Linked DNA regions of Homo sapiens: region 2 is linked to region 1. The links are contacts of gene promoters, found by promoter capture Hi-C in human tissues and cell types (Jung and others, 2019). All regions are on one chromosome and are shown on one strand. Each heading gives the region's core, a stretch centred on a gene start or on the middle of the fragment in contact. The rest is flanking DNA. Distances are from core to core; before and after follow the strand shown. Region 1 holds the start of RILPL1 (Rab interacting lysosomal protein like 1). Region 2 overlaps PITPNM2 (phosphatidylinositol transfer protein membrane associated 2).

Region 1 (5,039 bases), core at 2,441-4,940:
AGATTTCAAAGATGTAGTAGGAAAAAAAGAGTGCAGAATATCAAATGATAAGTTTTTATACTGATTACATGTTGAAATGAAAATATTTTGGATCTACTGGGTCCCATAAGATATATTAAAATTAACCTCACTGGTTTGTTGTTGTTGTTGTTTTTGAGACAGAGTCTCACTCTGTCACCCAGGCTGGAGTGCAATGGTGTGATTTCGACTCGCTGCAATCTCTGCCTCCCGGGTTCAAGCGATTCTCCTGCCTCAGCTTCCTGAATAGCTGGGATTATAGGCACTCGCCACCATGCCCGGCTAATTTTTGTATTTTTAGTAGAAATGGGGTTTTGCCATATTGGCCAAGCTGGTCTTGAATTCCTGACCTCAAGTGATCCACCCGCCTTGGCCCCCCAAAAGTGCTGGGATTACAGGTGTGAGCCACCGCGCCCAGCCAACTTCACTGTTTTTTATTAACATGGCAAAGCTGCATAATATTTCTATGGTATAGCACTACACTAAAAAGTCAGGCTCATCAGGGCCAAGGCCTCATCTGTCATGGTCATTACTGTCTTCCCAGTGCCCAGAACAATGCATGGCACACAGTAGGTTCTCAGTAAATATATTCGCTGAATGAGTGAATGAATAGCATAGTCTGGTATGTTACACGCGAGTGTATCAGCCCAGCCATTGCTTTCTAGAATTTATTTGTGTTTTCCCTTTCTTCCCTGTTACCCGCCTGCTGCCTGACATGAGACTTTGCTTTTCTCTGCAGAGCCATGGTACCAAGAAGGGCACTGTGCTCGCTATGGCCTGTCATCAGAGTTGCAGACTGAGTAATGAGACAGAACATGACACAACTGTGGCCTGCATCTGAGTGATGAGTGGAAGTGAGTGAGTGGGTCTACTGAGAGGAGGAGTAGGGGGAAGAAAGTGTATGTCCTTTACTGGAGCCATAATTGCTGAAAGCGAGAGAGACAAGGAAGAAGGGGTAGGGAAGAAGAGGGGAAAGGGAAGAGGAATGGAGGTGGACAGACTAAACCAGGACATGCCAAAAACATTTTTGTGGAAATATCACCTTGAAGAGCCTTTGAGACTCTGCAGGAAAAAAAAAAAAAAATCATACAAGTCTCTCTCCATCCCAAGAATGTGAAGTAAACGGGTCTGGGGCTGGGGTGGGAAAAGAATTGCATCCTTGATTTAGAGAGGTCATCCTCAATGTAAGTCAACAAGCCCTGGCCCTGAGCGCACGGTGTTCACTTCCCAGCTGAACACTTTCCAGAGGCAACAAGTGCAGCTGCTGACAATTCCATGTGACTTCAGACCTGGTGGCCTCCGATGGCTTCCAAGGATTTCTCCCAGCTCCCCCGCAACAGAACTAAAGAGCCCCAGTTGGGGGACAGTATAGGTGCCAGGACTTCTGTGTGATCTGGTCAAAGCCCCTTGGTCCCTGTTAATAAGAGGCGCCACACGAGAGAATTTCCAAGGTCCCTTGCCTCCTTGACCCTCTATGAGAGATGGAGGCCTCTAGGGTAGGAGTAGAGGTGCTTGGGGTGGGGACGGTTTCCTAATATGAGCCTGTGAGCACCTCAATGAATGTCTCTCCAGGCCTAAAAAGAATTTTAAGACTTGCAAAGCCCTTGCTATGGGCAGGCTCTGTCCTGAACACTTTATATGTATTTATATTAACTCTTTAAACCTCATCACATTCTAATGGGGGTACTATTACTATCCCATTTTAGAACTGAGGAAACTGAAGCACAGAGATGCTGGGTGATTTGCCCAAGATCACACAGCCTGCAAGTGGTAGGGTTTGAAACCAGGCTGTCTAGCTCCAAAGTCCTAGCTTCTAGGAGTCTTGAAATTAATTACAGGTCAAAGCATTTTCAGGCTCCCAGAGTGACCTCGGAAATGCTGCTCAACTCTTGGGAGCCTGAGTTTCCTTCCTGCCCCTAGGGCATAGGGACCCATGAGGACGAGCACAGTCAAACATGGCAATGGTGCTGTTACCTACCTGTGGGTCTGCCCTCAGGTAAAGGGTTCAGACCCAGCTTTGGCTATTTTACTCCAAAACACAGAGATCCATCAAAGTACACAATAAGGGATGGCCTGCCCCTGAGGTTCAGAGAGGCCATCTGTATTTCCTGAGGCTGAACAGCAAGCTGGAGACTGCTCAGGCACCCTGATCCCTCAAGGAAAGGTGTTTCCTCCCATTCTCAGTCTGAAGGGGCTGCCAAGAGCATCCCTGGCTGAGGTTAGGGCAGGAAACCACATGTCTTTCACTTCCTTTTCTCCAGAAACCTCGTCTGAACTCCAGGCCCAGTGGGGAGGCCCTGATTCAGAGAGACTCCTGATCACAGGGCAGAGGCTTAGCCTTAAAGCCACCCCAAATCATCCCTTTCCCCCAATTCAAACAGGGTGGGGAGGAGACACGGGGGCTGGGACTCTCTCACCACTAATTTGGGACAAATTGCTCCTCCCACTGTGACCCTCGGTTTCTTTATCTGTAAAATGAAGATAGTCTCTATAGAGTCCTGTGAGGATTAAGGATAAAATCAGAGGAGAGAACACGGGCTACCACAGGTTCATAAGCTAGGGGAGTCCCGGGAAGAAAGTTGCAAATATGAACCCGAAGACTAGGGGTCACGAAGCTCAGTGGCTGGAGGTCACATTCCCTTTGCTCTGGGGAGACTGGGGGGGGGGGGGATGAAGAAAGGGTCCTGGGCCTGATGTCACATCTTCTTGGTAACTCGGGAGGCCAAGAGGCTTATTTCATGTCTGGAAGAGAATAATATGTCTAAGCACTTAGCTTATATGGTCCCATTTAATTCTTCTAAGGTGGGTCCTATTATGATTACCATTTGACAGGTGAGGAAATAAAGCACAGAGAGGTTAAGTAACTTACCTAAAGTCACACAGCTATTAAACGGTAAAGGTGGGATTGGAACTCCAGAGAACAGCTCTTAATCTCTCGGGTGGTATCTGCCAGCCACCCCTGGTCGGGCAAAAGAAGGCCAGGGCCTCCCTCCCTCCCCACGTCGGGTCTCCTCTGGTCCGGTCCCTGAACACACACACGTGCGCACCCACAGCTGCCCAATGCGGAAGAGCCCTTGGGTCCCCGCGGTCCCACTGCCCGGACGGACAGACCGAGGCCGCCGCCCACCTTCTGGTGCTTGCGCTCCTTCTCGATGCGGTCCATCCTCTCCAGGCGCAGGCGGTCCAGCTCCAGGCGCAGCTCGTCCAGCTCGGGCGCGACGTGGTGGCGGCTGACCAGCACCTCCAGGATCTCCAGGACGCGCACGACCTTGGGCATGAGGCGCGCGATGGCCTCGCAGCCGTGCTGGTCAATGACCCGCTCGAACTCGTGGCCCACAAGCGACGCGATGTCGTACACGTCCATGACGGTCAGCTCGGCCACGTTCTTCTCCAGCGCCGACTCGGCCGCCAGCGCCGACCCCCGCTCCTCCTCCATGGCCACCCTCCTGGCCTGTCCCCCGCCCCGCAAACTCGTGCAACTCCCAAACTTGCCGCTGTCGAGGGCCGGGCCGGCCGGGCCCAGCCTGGGCCGCGGGCGGGCGCGCTCAGCGGGCGCTGGGGCGAGGGCGCAGCGGGCAGCGGGCGGCGGGCGCGGGCGCGGGCACGGGCGGCGGCGCGGGGTGTGCGGGCCCGGGGTCTGGGCGCCCGGCTCGGCCCGGAGCTGCTCCCGAGTGGGCGGCGGCGGCGGCGGCGGCGGCGGCGGCAGCGGGGAGGGCGCGCGCGTGCGCAGGCCCGCGGCGCCTCCCAAGTTGGGATCCGAGTTGCGCTCAATGGAGCCGGGCCGGGCGCCTCGGGGCGGTGCGGGCCTGAGGGGCGGCAGAGCGCGGGGCCGGAGAGGAAGGGCGGCCCGCGGCTCCTCCGGGAAACTTTGGCGGCGGCGGCTGCGAGGCCGGGTGATCGCTTCCCCACAGGGAGGCCGCGCGCCCCGCCCCAATCCCGGCCTGGCCAGGGGCGCGCCCGCTTTCCGCCGCCCGGGGGCGCCCCGGGGTACCCCCCCAAGCGCCGACTCCGCGGCCTGCACTCCGGGCCCCCCTCTCCAGCCGCCGGACCCGCGGCGCCCCTCACCCGTGCCCCGGCCGCCCCTCCCCCGCCCGGCGCTGACTCCTCCCACCACCCGGCCGCCGGGAGGGGTCCAGGCCGCCCCGGGAGAGGGGGCCGGGGGCGCTGGTCTCGCGGGACGATTCGCTGCTCCGGGTAGCGGCCCCGGCCTTGGAGAGGGATGGAGGGGTCACGAGGAGGTCCCCGGGCTGGGGCTCATCCCAGGAAGAGAACGGGGACCCCCCCCGGCCCGCAGACACTCCGCGCAGACCCGGCCACCAGGCGGACTTGCAGAGGCGCCCGGAGAGGGGCCGACGTGTCGAGGAATGCTGGATCCCCGGAGCCCCAGGGCGCGCCTCCCCGAGCCACATCCATCACTGGCTCCTTGTGACATGAACGCCACTTCACAGTAGAGCGAAGCCCGCTTGGCATTCCAGCACCACGAGTTCTCTTGTCCCAAGGCCCCCTGTCCATTTGGGCTGGCCAAATCCACTTGTCCATCAGACCCCCTCCCACTCCCGGGAGAACGTTTCCTGAACCCAGAACCCCATCCACCCTCCCCGCCCCCCACGCAGGAGTTAAGGACCCCCTTGCAAACTCACAGTCCCCTGCTTGCCCCATCAGGATTGCTCTTAGCATCCTGAGTTTTCACCGTGTGGTTGCAGGTAGGTTTCCACCGTCAGATCTTGGCTCCTTGAGGGAAGAAATCTTAATGCCCTTGTAGCCATAAAGCGCACCCCAACGTGGCACGTATTGATTAAAAATCTAAAAGTTGGCCGGGCGCGGTGGCTCACGCCTGTAATCCCAGCACTTTGGGAGACTGAGGTGGACGAGGTCAGGAGTTCAAGACCAGCCTAGCCAAGGTGGTGAAACCCCGTCTCTACTAAAAATACAAAAATTAGCCGGGCATGGTGGCGCATGCCTGTAATCCCAGCTACTCAGGAGGCTGAGGCAGAGAGTTGCTTAAACCCGGGAGGCGGAGG
Region 2 (4,377 bases), core at 360-2,859, 390 kb before region 1:
TGTCAGATGCACAACACTGATGAACTAATTGAAATATGCTGCAACAAGCAAACCCAAAATAAATGTAAAATAATTGTTTCCTTACACGATAACCCGCTGAAGTGCCTCCACGTCTGGCCACCCCTGCTGATTGAATGTTCCCCCTGCTCCGTGAGCCTCACTTATGTGTGGTTTTCAAAGGATTTAAATGCTTTTTTCCAGTGTGATTACCCACATGGGAAAAATTCTAATTGCAAAAAATGTTGAGTTTTTCTCCCTCTTATGAAAAAAAAAAAAAAGCAAGTGAAAAGTCAACTGTTATAAAGTACCAAGGAAAGCACTTAAATGGGCCCTTCAGTGTGAGAGGAAGAATGTCCTCCTGTTCTCCAGAGCACCGTCGCCAAGCCAGTGTTAAGCACGCATCCACACCTGTGGGGAAGCCCTGCCTCTCAGACAACCTCACGCCACTGATGAAAGCTGGGAATAGCCACCTATTTCTACCCTGACACACCCATCCCTATCCCCCTCCCCCCTCCCTCGATCCCTCCCTCCAAGGGGCTGTCTAGAGAGACAGCAGAGGGTGGAGCCAGCAGCACCCATAACAAGCTCTCCCACTGGCTCACCACCTCATGCAGGACACTGGTGCCCAGTGAGCCCTCCCTAGGGGGCTGGGAAGCCCAAGGGCCTGATTCTAATCCCAGGAGGACAACAGAAGCAAAGTGCACAGCCCTGCTCCACAGCACAGCCTGTGAGTCAGACTTGGAAGGGAAGCCCCCCAGCTGCCAAAAGAGAAAATTCAGGCCCTCCCCAGGAGCCACCTCTCAAAAGGGGAAATAAACAGCTCTGCAGAGGAGAAACAGTAATAATCCGTATGACGTACGTACGAACTCTTAAGAGGGCACACAACAGGCAAAAGACTTGGGAAAGCTTCCTCTGAGAGAGCCCAGGCATAAGAAGGCCACAATTTGAGGCATGGGGGCCCCAGGAACCCCCCATCTTGGCCTGAAACACCTCCGTAAGAGGATTATTCCTTTGGGAGAAGGATTGGTCTCAGCTCCTAAGAAAGGCCAAGTCTATTGCAGGGCTGCCGCCAGAACCCACTGCATGAAAGTACAGGGTCCCTCCTACCTGTAGACTTGAGCAGAGAGAGATGGGCACCATTCTGCTGGCAGCAGCCCTTCTAGAAGAAGCTACAGCAGGGCTGAGGGAGGACAGCTTGTCTTTCTGTAGCACCTAAGACAAGCAAACACAAGAATCTGCCCACAGCCTCATCCCGCAGCTCCAGTCTTCATCCATTAAGTACCATCAGCATTGTGAGGTGCCCTGAGCTAGGCTGGATACACCGTGGGGGCTGACATGATGCCAAAGGTGGCAGATCCTCACTATCCATGGATTCCATATTTGTGAATTACCCTAGTCACTAAAATTTATCTGTAACCCCAAAATCAATGCTCATGGTGCTTTCAAATTCATTTTCAAATTTGTGCAAATTGGCAAAAAATTTGAGTTGCCTGATGGCACATTCCCTGCTGAGGTTGAACGAGGGGACATCCTCTATCTTCCCATCTCAGCTCTCCTAATGGAAACACGTGTCCTTTTTGTGGTCTGTGCAGTGCCACATTTTTGGCACTTGTGTGCTTTGTGTTGGTGATTTTGCTGTTTGGAATGGCCCCCAATCACAGTGCTGAGGTGCAGTCTAGTTCTTGGGTGCAAGATGATTATGATGTGCAGAGAAAATCTCTTGTGTTAGAGAAGCTTCATTCAGACATGAGTCACAGTGTTGATGGCCAGGAGTTTAATGTTAATGAATCAATGATACATATTAAATAGGGTGTCTTTTTTGTTGTTGTTTTGAGACAGAGTCTCACTCTGTCGCCAGGCCAGAGTGCAGGGGCACGATCTCGGCTCACTGCAACCTCCACCTCCTGGGTTCAAGCAATTCTCCTGCCTTAGCCTCCTGAGTAGCTGGGATTACAGATGGACACCACCAAACCCAGCTAATTTTTGTATTTTTAGTAGAGATGGGGTTTCACCATGTTGGCCAGGATGGTCTCGATCTCTTGACCTCATTATCTGCCCACCTCGGCCTCCCAAAGTGCTAGGATTACAGGCATGAGCCACTGTGCCCAGCCAATTTTTGTATTTTTAGTAGACACAGGGTTTCACCATGTTGGCCAGTCTGGTCTCGAACTCCTGACCTCAGGTAATCCACCCGCCTCGGCCTCCCAAAGTGCTGGGATTATAGGCATGAGCCACCATGCCCGATCTCTTTTAACAGAAACATATATAAAATAAGATTACATATGGATTGGTTAAAGAAAATATTGTCCCCGCAGGCTCAAAGGAGCCTAACCCTGTGTTTTCCCTAGGAGCAGTGGTTCAGTGTTCACTAACTCAGTGTTTGAAGAGGGACTTTATAGAACATAACTATGTTAGCCAGCGTGGTGCACAAGTCTGTAGTCCCAGCTACTCAGGAGGCTGAGGCAGGAGGATCATTGGGCCCAGGAGTTTGAAGCTGCAGTGAGCAATGATTGCACCACTGCACTCCAGCCTGGGAGACAGAGAGAGACCCTGTCACAAAAAATAAAAAAAGAAGAACCTAACTATGGCCAACAATATGAATCAAATAACTATGCATACATGTATGCATAGTCAGGATATACTTTCCTCAGACAGAGCTATTCCACCCTACATTCATGTGCTCCTAAGGCTGCAGGTTGGCATGTCCACACCCAATAGGGAGTTTGAGCTGTCAGCTTCTGCTCCAAGGCTGGAATCAGCCTTGAGGTCTCTTGGGTCCTGCTGCTGCTCTGATAACACTCTGCCTTTTCCCTGGACCCATGACTCCCGCTGACGTCCCTGATCATGACCTCTGATCTTTCTGACTAGCCAGGTCTTAATAAGACCCCTTTCCACAATAGAGATAAGGGACTTCAGAGGCAATGGCACTCAAGGAAAAGCTTTATGAAGAATGGGGAACTTCAACAAGGAGAGTGTGAAACTGATTTTTCCATGCTCTCTCTCCAAGGTTGTCTTGGGTTTTTGATTTGTCTGTTACCGGAAACCTGCCTGTTGGTTAATCTCCTTTGTGTCCTCTAGCAAGGGCAGTTGTTAATATAAGTAATTTGGCCAGCCACAATGGCTCACACCTCAAGAGGACTGCTTGAACCTGGGAGTTCCAGACCAGTCTGGGCAACATAGCAAGACGTCGTCTCTACTAAAAATATCGTTCTATCATAAAGATACAGGCACACGTATGTTCATTGCAGCACTATTCACAATAGCAAAGACATGGAATCAACCTAAATGCCCCATCAATGGTAGACTGGAAAAGAAAATGTGGTATATATACACATAGTATAGAATACTATACAGTCATAAAAAAGAATGAGATCATGTCCTTTGCAGGAACATGGATGAAACTGGAGGCCATTATTCTTAGCAAACTAATGAAAGAACAGAAAACCAAACACCACAAGTTCTTACTTATAAGTGGGAGCTAAAGGTGAGAACACACGGACACATAGAGGGGGGTAACACACACTGGGACTTATTGGAGGGTGGAGGGTGGGAGGAGGGAGAGGATCAGGAAAAATAACTAATGGGTACTAGGTTTAGTACCTGAGTGATGAAATGATCTGTATAACAAGCCCTCATGACACAAGTCTACCGACACAACAAACCTGTGCTTGTACCCCTGAACTTAAAAGTTAACAGCTGGGCGTGGTGGCTCATGTCTGTAATACCAGCACTTTGGGAGGCCAAGGTGGGCGGATCACTGGAGGTCAGGAGTTCGAGACCAGCCTGGCCAACATGGCAAAACCCATCTCTACTAAAAATACAAAAATTAGCCCGGTGTGGTGGTGGGCGCCTGTAATCCCAGCTACCCAGGAGGCTGAGGCAGGAGAATCGCTTGAATCTGGGAGGCAGAGGTTGCAGTGAGCCAAGATCACATCATTGCACTGCAGCCTGGGCAACAAGAGCGAAATTCCATCTAAAAATAATAATAATTTTTAAAAAATACAATAAAAGTTTAAAAAAAAAAAAGAGTAAGCAAATGCCAGCCTGCCCCTCCTAACAGCACTCGTCGTGTCTTTGACCATAAATGTTTAGCAGAGGTTTGTCCTGGTGTTGCTAGGTTGGGCGTGAGGAGGTCAATGCTCCATACTCATTTCACAGGAAACAAGGACCCATGTACAGGGCTGTCACTTTTAAAAAAGAGCATTAAACCGGTAATCAGGGACTTGGGTTCCAGGCTAGAAGAGAGGTCTTGTGCAAATCACTTCTATTCTGCCAGCCTCTGCCTCTCATCCTCAACAGGGTGCAGGCCCTCCCAGCTCCAGTCTTCTGGGACCCTCCATCAAAGATACAGAGGATTTGAAAAAGGCATCACCAGGT

Evidence for each region. Contacts are between HindIII fragments. The study calls those that stand out against the background at their distance.
Region 2: a fragment that was not itself captured here is called in contact with the fragment with the promoter of RILPL1 in region 1 in 1 of the 25 tissues and cell types used here (lymphoblastoid cells).

Annotation. Positions count from the first base shown.
Region 1 is chr12:123,530,029-123,535,067 of GRCh38, forward strand. It overlaps RILPL1 (Rab interacting lysosomal protein like 1), which reads right to left and starts at 3,691. Exons shown (of 7, transcript NM_178314.5): 1 at 3,146-3,691. The coding sequence starts at 3,454. RefSeq lists an enhancer at 2,692-3,509 and silencers at 3,725-4,414, 4,434-4,619. The HindIII fragment of the contact is 25,082 bases long and covers 1-5,039 here.
Region 2 is chr12:123,142,619-123,146,995 of GRCh38, forward strand. The region is part of intron 1 of PITPNM2 (phosphatidylinositol transfer protein membrane associated 2); the gene reads right to left. Among named protein-coding and RNA genes, the nearest start is that of PITPNM2, 6.3 kb to the right of the region's middle. The HindIII fragment of the contact is 5,243 bases long and covers 1-4,231 here.